Regions from separate parts of the Homo sapiens genome. Here all the other regions are linked to region 2. The links are contacts of gene promoters, found by promoter capture Hi-C in blood cells and fetal thymus (Javierre and others, 2016). All regions are on one chromosome and are shown on one strand. The core of a region is centred on a gene start or on the middle of the fragment in contact, and the rest is flanking DNA. Distances in the headings are between cores, read along the strand shown.

Evidence for each region. The method cuts DNA at HindIII sites, captures the fragments that hold promoters and counts their contacts. A CHiCAGO score of 5 or more calls a contact.
Region 1: a contact is called between a fragment that was not itself captured here and the fragment with the promoter of TERF2 in region 2, in 1 of 17 cell types (activated CD4 T cells). The highest score is 5.6, in activated CD4 T cells.
Region 3: a fragment that was not itself captured here is called in contact with the fragment with the promoter of TERF2 in region 2 in 1 of 17 cell types (neutrophils); the score reaches 5.1 in neutrophils.

The regions. Positions count from the first base shown.
Region 1 is chr16:69,649,272-69,651,971 of GRCh38, forward strand. The region is part of intron 4 of NFAT5 (nuclear factor of activated T cells 5); the gene reads left to right. Among named protein-coding and RNA genes, the nearest start is that of SNORD13H, 58 kb to the right of the region's middle. The HindIII fragment of the contact is 1,162 bases long and covers 706-1,867 here.
Region 2 is chr16:69,384,590-69,387,289 of GRCh38, forward strand. It overlaps TERF2 (telomeric repeat binding factor 2), which reads right to left and starts at 1,418. Exons shown (of 10, transcript NM_005652.5): 1 at 1,004-1,418; 2 at 802-897; 3 at 1-121. The coding sequence starts at 1,382. RefSeq lists a silencer at 1,034-1,413. The HindIII fragment of the contact is 13,848 bases long and covers 1-2,700 here.
Region 3 is chr16:69,772,415-69,775,114 of GRCh38, forward strand. The region is part of intron 1 of WWP2 (WW domain containing E3 ubiquitin protein ligase 2); the gene reads left to right. Among named protein-coding and RNA genes, the nearest start is that of WWP2, 11 kb to the left of the region's middle. RefSeq lists an enhancer at 870-1,069. The HindIII fragment of the contact is 6,611 bases long and covers 1-2,700 here.

The sequences.
Region 1 (2,700 bases), core at 37-2,536, 260 kb after region 2:
TTAATATAAAGTTCCAGAAGATAAATTTTCATTTTTATATCAAAATGAATGTTGAAGGTTCAAATTTAGAGCAAATAGAATTTTTACTTATGGCTAGTAAACAGTGATTTGCAGTTGCTAATTAAATATCTTGACCTTCATTTTTCTGCTTCTACTTTTGTATGATAGCTATATCTTAGAAATGATTTGAGGTTACCCAGGGAAAGTATAATGACATTGGTCAAGACAGACTCTTTCATGAAATAATTCATGGAGCAGAAATTCCATCAAGCAGAAGAAATGTCCAGCTTCTTAGGTAATGAAAAAAATATTTGAAACTAGTATATGGAAATGATGGAAGAATTTTAAAATTGGAATTTATAACAACTATATTGAGGAAAGGATGAAACCATACCTAAATATATAGAAAAATCGGCCTTAAAAATAATTTTTCAGAGCATGTCAAGCTAAAAGCCTGTATTCTTCAACAGTGAAAAAAATCTTAAAATGTTTTGAGAGATAAGGATATAGCCTTAGATCTAATGTGCCATAAATCTACAATTTATATCATACTAAGTATTTAGAAAATGTACTTTAAAATGTATACAGCAGTTTATTGATCTTCAAGATACCACATAGAAATCTGATAGCTTGTAGATGAAAATAGCATTTTTATATGACTAAGATGTTAGAGTCTAATAAGAGAATAAAACCATTAAAAAAAAAAGCTTAGTATTTGAATATTCCTAGCCATATCATTCTTAAATTTCTCAACTAAATGTCCTGAGAATCAGTTGCCCCATGTCTCTTCTAGATATTTCTATAAGTTAAGATAGGATGTCATCTGGATGTGAAACCTACTTTAGGCTTTTTGTAATGAAAATTATTTTTTTGACATAGGTCACCAGAAGGATTATGCGGCACGAATAAATTAGAATGTCATTTTAAGACTTCTGAATAGAATATGCCATGATGGTGGATTTTCCTTTTTGGTTGTCATTTAGAAGTAAAATCCCATGTAACTGACTGCTACTTTATTTTTTCTTAAGCCATCATGCCTTAAAAATTAGTAACTTGACTACGTTTCTAAGCATTAGTGGATGTTTTCATGGTTTTACATGTCTATACATCTCAATATGTATGTATTCCATTTTTACATTTTAGAAAAAAAAGATAGTTTTAAGAACTTCTAAAGTACCATTTTAGAAATTGCTTAATTACATGATATTCTTCTTTAAGCCATAATGTGTATACTCACTCAATACTTCATCCCAAGTGAGATCATTTGTTTTGCTAGACTAGTAAAACTCACTTTCATTTATTTGCCCTTATAAATATTAGCTTGACTAGCATAAGTGAGTATAAAAACATGTCTTGCCAAGTTAATCGATATGCTCTATGAATTTTCCTTGTATTTCAAACTAAAATTTTCCCTTTTCTATTATAAAATTGATACATATGAATTACAAATATTTGAAAAATACAAGAAAACCTCATAATCTAGTCACTCAGTAAATCTGCTATTATCATTTTGCAGTATTTTCTTTCATCTCTTTGTATGTATATTTGGGGGATATTTCTACATAGTTTCAATAAATGAATATTTTTACTTTAAGATTAGTATAAAACAGAATATCATAGACTTTCATGTGTGAGGAACTGCACACTAGTTAGACCAAATGTTTGAATCTGTACCCAGAATGATGAAAAGAAAAACAGGGTTTACTGCCCATTGTTCCAGCTTCAACTTGATACTTATGTTCATAGAATTTATTCTTCCAGGGCCTTTTAAATGACTTGCACAAGTAATCTTTGATTTACTTATGTCAAATTTACACGAATGGCATTCCTTGTCCAGTTAGGATCTTTCTCATCTTAATATTACAGAAGCTTCTTTATCCCTCTGCTTTCCTTTCTTTGTCCCTTTCTTCTTCTTTGCCTTCATCAACAAACATTTCTTCAGCACCTGTTATGTTTCAGGAAGTGTGCCAGGTTCAGGGAATATAAAGATGATTAAGCACAGTATTGCGCCTTGAGAACTTTTCCTCTCATCTATCAGTCTTACTGAATTCCTATGCTAGTTTCATTCCTTCTTTGCTCCATTCTTTTGCCTCTTTCCTAGCCAAGGATTCAACCTACTCCCCATTTCCATTGAAGATAGTGCCTTTCCTCACTTTGTTCTTGATGATTAAGGCAACAACTTGGTTACAGCTGGAGGGGTAAACATTAGAGCCAGGTTTAAGCCTGCTTAGCTTCTCTGTGTTTGAAGTCGTAATATTCCTACTGGAATCTGGTTGCTTTTAGAGGAGATTTTTCTTCACAGTCATCTGGCTCCTGGATCTTTGATGTGAGTCAAAACTTAGGACTAGGAGGGTCACAGAGAAAGCTATGACCCTGACTTTATTTAAAAACATACGTGAATTTTTTTTTTTTTTTTGAGACGGAGTTTTGCTCTTGTTGACCAGGCTGGAGTGCAATGGCACGATCTGGGCTCACTGCAACCTGCACCTCCTGGGTTCAAGTGATTCTCCTGCCTCAGCCTCCCGAGTAGATGGGATTACAGGTGCCTGCCACCACTCCTGGCTAATTTTTTGTAGTTTTAGTAGAGACGGGGTTTCACCATGTTGGCCAGGATGGTCTCAAACTCCTGACCTCAGGTGATCCACCCCGCTTGGCCTCCCAAAGTGCTGGAATTACAGGTGTGGGACACCACACCATTGC
Region 2 (2,700 bases), core at 168-2,667:
ACCAGTTTTCTACTGGATTCGACCACTGCTTCTGTCAGTGTAAATTCCGTTTTAATCATCTCCAGCACATTGATAGCTGATTCCAGTGGTGTGAGCTCAGCCTCCATATCAAAGGAACAGTCTAGGACAAAGCACAGTTTTCATTTTTAAGCTCTTTTCTAAGGGTAAAAAAGTTATGTCCAAAAATTATATATATATATTTATGGAAATGGAGCATGCAAATATGGTAAGATTTGCATTTAATTTTTTGACATATTTGCTACAGGTTGACATACACGATAAGGGTCCAAATTCAAATCAATGAATTTAACGTGACCATTTTTTAACACCTGTCAAGACAGGCAAAAAAATTATTTTTAAATACCTGCATTTGCCTCTCAAATTCAGAATATACCCATCCTCCTCAGATACGAGTGGCAAGAAACTGACAACAGCTAAATAGCTTTCAAGTTAAATTCAGAGGGGAAAAATGTCAGAGTACTTCCACTCTGAAAAACTCTCTACCATGGGGGAAAAAAGATGTCCATATGAACATAACTCACTTTAGACAGGAGCAAAGTTGGGGTGAGCAATTAACAGGTGGGAGAAGATTTAAAAAAAACACAGAAAAGCAGCCAAGACAACCTTAACCGGAGAAAACTAGAGCCAGTCGAGCCAGAAAACAGACCCATCGTAGAATGAAAAAGACCACTCTGATGGAAACTATCGCACTTTAACCTGGAATCCTTCAGTTCTAGATATAAGTTTTAAAACAAAACCCTACGCAAGTAAGCCCAGAGAAGAACACAAAAATAGCCATACCTAAATTTTCCCCTTCTTCAATCCGCGACAGACACTGCATAACCCGCAGCAATCGGGACACGGTGTGCTCCTTCCCCAAGGGCCTGACAAGCAAAGCTGGGAGAGAAGACATCGTTGGCTGGGCGACCCCCAGTCCCGACTCCCGGTCCCCCGGACCCCCTTCCCCGGCGCTCCAACCCCCCTCCCCCGGCCCGGCCCTCACCCTGCATGATGTCCCGGATCTGTCTGAAGTCCCCGTACCGGCTACCCCGAAAGGCCCGCAGCGCCTCGTGGAAGTAGAACTTGAGCACCCAGCGATTGACTGCCTCTTCCAGCCGTGCCTCCCCCGCGCCGCGCTCCGCCGGGCCCCCCAGCCCCGGCTCGTGGCGCCCCCGCCGGGCCCGCCCGCTACTGCGGGACGCCCGCCTGCCAGCTGCCCGCCCGCTGCCGTCGCTACTCCCGCCTCCTCCCGCCATCGTGTCCGATCGCCGCGCGCCCTCCCCGCCCTCCCGGCCGGGCCGCTTCCTCGGCTGTGACGCCGCTGGGTCACGCACGACGCCCGGGCCGGAAGCGGGGCCCGCCGTCCCGGCTCCCGCGGCCATGATAGAAACAGCGTTCCGAGCCGCCCGCGGGCTTCTGGGAGGGAAAGGACCGGAGGGCCCGGCCCCCTTCTCAGACGCCGTAGTTCCCGATGTGCCGGCCGCAATGCCTCCTGGGGCTTGAAGTCCACACCGCCCAGGCCGGTGAACCCGGCGGGTTTTGCAGTCAACTTCGCTCCGAATTTACAGAAAACAGCTACTATGCTAGGGACGCGGAACAGTGTATTAGAGACTGAAAAACAGGCCGGGATCGGTGGCTCTACGCCTGTAATCCCAGCACTTTGGGAGGCTGAGGCGGGTGGATCACCTGAGGTCGGGAGTTCGAGACCAGCCTGACCAACATGGAGAAACCCCATCTCTACTAAAAATACAAAATTAGCCAGACGTGGTGGCGCATGCCTGTAATCCTAGCTACTCAGGAGGCTGAGGCAGGAGACTCGCTTGAACCCGCGAGGCGGAGGTTGCGGTGAGCCGAGATCGCGCCATTGCACTCCAGTCTGGGCAACAAGAGCGAAACTCCGTCTCAAAAAAAAGAAAAGAAAAAAAAGAAAACCAAATATGTGCACCTTATTAAACACTTTGAAAATTGTGGAAGAGAGCATACACAGAGGAAAGTCTTTAAACAAATTTGTATTTTAACAAATACTGTAATTATAAAGCAAAGACCAGTGTGATACCAATAAATAGAATGCACCTGGCAACCCAGCCGCTAGACATATACTCTTTGTAATCACAAAAATAACACATTTTGTTGTAGAACAATTAGAAAAATAAGCAAAAGGACCACCCATAGTCCCATAGAGGGTCTGAGTCACTTTCAGATATCTCTGATACTCTTGGAATTCACCAACTGGCACTTGACCAAATGGAGAACCTCCAGCTCAGACCTTAGTTCAGGATGGTGGTTGTGGGTGCCTCTTCCTGAGAGGCCCAGTAACTGGTCTAGCTTCAAAGATTGTCCTACCAGCCCCACTAGTCTGGAACCTGCAAAGATCCAGTTTGGGGCCACTCAAAGACAACTCAGAAGTGCAGGTGGCCATGTCCTTGAGGATGTGAATCCCATGCTGGACCTGTGAATTAATATCAGGACCTTAATATGTATAGTATCCTGGAAAGCCAAAAGTTCTATGAGGTACACGTTCCGGGATGAGAGAAGAGGCCTCTAGGTCTGACTGATCTTTGGTGATCATAGCTGCTTTTCTTTTTTTTCTTTGTTTTTCTTGAGATGGAATCTCGTTCTGTCGCCCAAGCTGGAGTGCAGTGGCACGATCTCGGCTCACTGCAAGCTCCGCCTCTGGGTTCATGCCATTCTCCTGCCTCA
Region 3 (2,700 bases), core at 11-2,510, 390 kb after region 2:
GGGGGTTAGTCTGGGTAGGTTCTTGGCTTTGCCCTGGAAAGAATTCAAGGGCAAGCTGGTAGTAGAAGAAAACAGCTTTATTGAGGCAGCAGAGTTACAGCTCCGTGACTGCTCCTGCAGAGCAGGGCTACGCTATAGGCAGTGTGTCCCTAGTAGCAGCTCAGGGGCAGTTTTGCTGTCATATTTATACCCAGTTTTAATTATATGCAAGTTAAGGAGTGGGCTATTAGACATTTCTAGAAAAGTGGTAACTTCTGGGGCATTACCATGGCATTGGCACACTGTCATGGCACTGGTGGGTGTGTCTTGTGGGGAGGTGCTTTTGGTGCCTCTTCCCTGTTTCAGCCAGTCTTCAGTCTGGTCCTGAGTCGAGTCCTCCCTCCTGCCTCACCACCAGTGATTGACCCTTTCTGGAATTCTTCATTGCCAGTCTGCTTGCCTTCTGTTGACCTCTCTTGTGGGCAGCTAAGTTTCAGTTTCGACACACTGGAACCATTTTCCAAAATTTTGCTGCTGTTTCCGTTGTGTTTTTTTCCCTTTCTGTGGGTTTTCACCTTTTTGTATTGCTTCCTGTCATTTTGATGGAGTTTGAGAAGGGAACAGAGATAAATGTATGTGTAGTCTGCTCTGTGTATTGAGAGCTCCTGGAAGGCTAAGGGAAGAACTGGCCTCTGGGAAGACGCTAGTGTCGCTACTACTTTGTTTCCTTAGCAACAGTCCTGACGGGGAGCTCCTTCATTGTATTCTGTTCCTACCGATACACGTTGCTCCTTTTTTTTTTTTGAGATGACTCTCATGCTGTCGCTCAGGCTGGAGTGCAATGGCACAATCTTGGCTCACTGCAACCTTCGCCTCCCAGGTTCAAGTGATTCTCCTGCCTCAGCCTCCCAAGTAGCTGAGATTACAGGCACTCACTACCACACCCAGATAATTTTTTTATTTTTAGTAGAGATTGGGTTTCACTATGTTGGCCGGGCTGATCTCGAACTCTTGACCTCATGTGGTCCACCCACCTCGGCCTCCCAAAGTGCTAGAATTACAGGCATGAGCCACCACGCCCAGCCACCTTTTCTTTTTTTTCTTTTGAAACAGGGTCTTCCTCTGTTGCTCAGGCTGGAGTGCAGTGGAGTGATTACAGCTCACTGCAGCCTTGACCTCCTGGGTTCTGGTGATTTCCCACCTCAGCCTCCTGAGTAGCTGGGACTACAGGCATGCACCACCATGTCTGACTAATTTTTTGTATTTTTTGTAGAAATGGGGTTTCTCTATGTTGCCTAGACTGGTCTCGAATTCCTGGGCTCAAGCAGTCTGCCCACATCAGCCTCCCAAAGTGCTTGGATTACAGGCATGAGCCACTACACCCAGCTGCCCCAGTTTTTCATTTGCATAATTTTCTATGCAAATTTTTTGCATTTTTTTAGTTCAGCCAAATTAGCTGAGGTCTAAAGCACTCCTTTTAGTGCAGTCACATTAGTTGAGGTTTCAACAAATTCATTAACAGTAAACCAGTGGTCCTCAACCCAGCTTCATATTAGGATCACTTGGGGAATTTTTAAATAACACAGCTGTCCCTGGCCCACCCCAGACCAATTAAATGGGAATCTCTGAGGGTAGGGTTTGGTGGTCAGTGTTGTTTTTTTTTAATGCTCCCCAGATAATTCAGATGTCTAGAAAGGATGGAGAACCACTGCTCCAAGGCATTTGATCCTTCATTAAGGATAATTTAACCTAACTCTACACATTCAATTACATCTGTTATCTTATTGTTATTCTTTCCATCTTACATTTCCACCCAACATTGGCCTCTTTCCTTCCTTGTATTCCCCAGACATGCTGTCACCTCAACAGCATTTTTTTTTTGAGACAGGGTCTTGCTCTGTCACCTAGCTGGAGTGCAGTGGCGTGATCATAGCTCACTGCAGCCTAGACCTCCCAGGCTCAAGCGATCCTCCCACCTCACCTCAGCCTCCCGAGTAACTGTGACTACAGGCATGTGCCACCATGGCTAATTTTTGTGGTTTTTGTTGAGACGAGGTTTTGCCCTATTGTTCAGGCTGGTCTCGAACTCCTGGATTCAAGTGATCCACCTGACTTGGCCTCCTAAGGTGCTGGGATTACATGCATGAGCCACCACTGCTGGCCATCATACCCTTTTATCTATCTGAATGTTTTGCAGATACTCTCAGTTTCTTCCTTCAGCTTCTTCAGATCTTTGCTCAAATGTCACCTTCTCAGTGAGACCTTCCTGTTCATGCCTTTTTAATTTCTATTTTGGCCAGGTGCTGTGGCTTACGTTTATAATCCCATCACTTTGGGAGGCCAAGGCAGGAGGATGGCTTGAGCCTAGGAGTTCAAGACCAGTCTGGACAACTTGGTAAAATCCTATCTCTACTAAAAATACCAAAATTAGCCAGGCATGGTGGCATGTACCTGTAACCCTAGCTACTCAGGAGGCTGAGGCATGAGAATCACTTGAATCTGGGAGGTGGAGGTGCAGTGAGCTGAGATCACGCCACAGCACTCCAGCCTGGGTGACAGAGCAAGACTGTCTCAAAAAAAAAAAAAAAAGAAAAGAAAAGAAAAAGTGAAAAGCATGCAAATTTATATCATATAAATTTACGTGACTAAGACCTGGAGAAACAGATAATGTGTATTTATGTTTAGGTTTGATGAAGAGTGGACAATCGTGGAGAAATACGA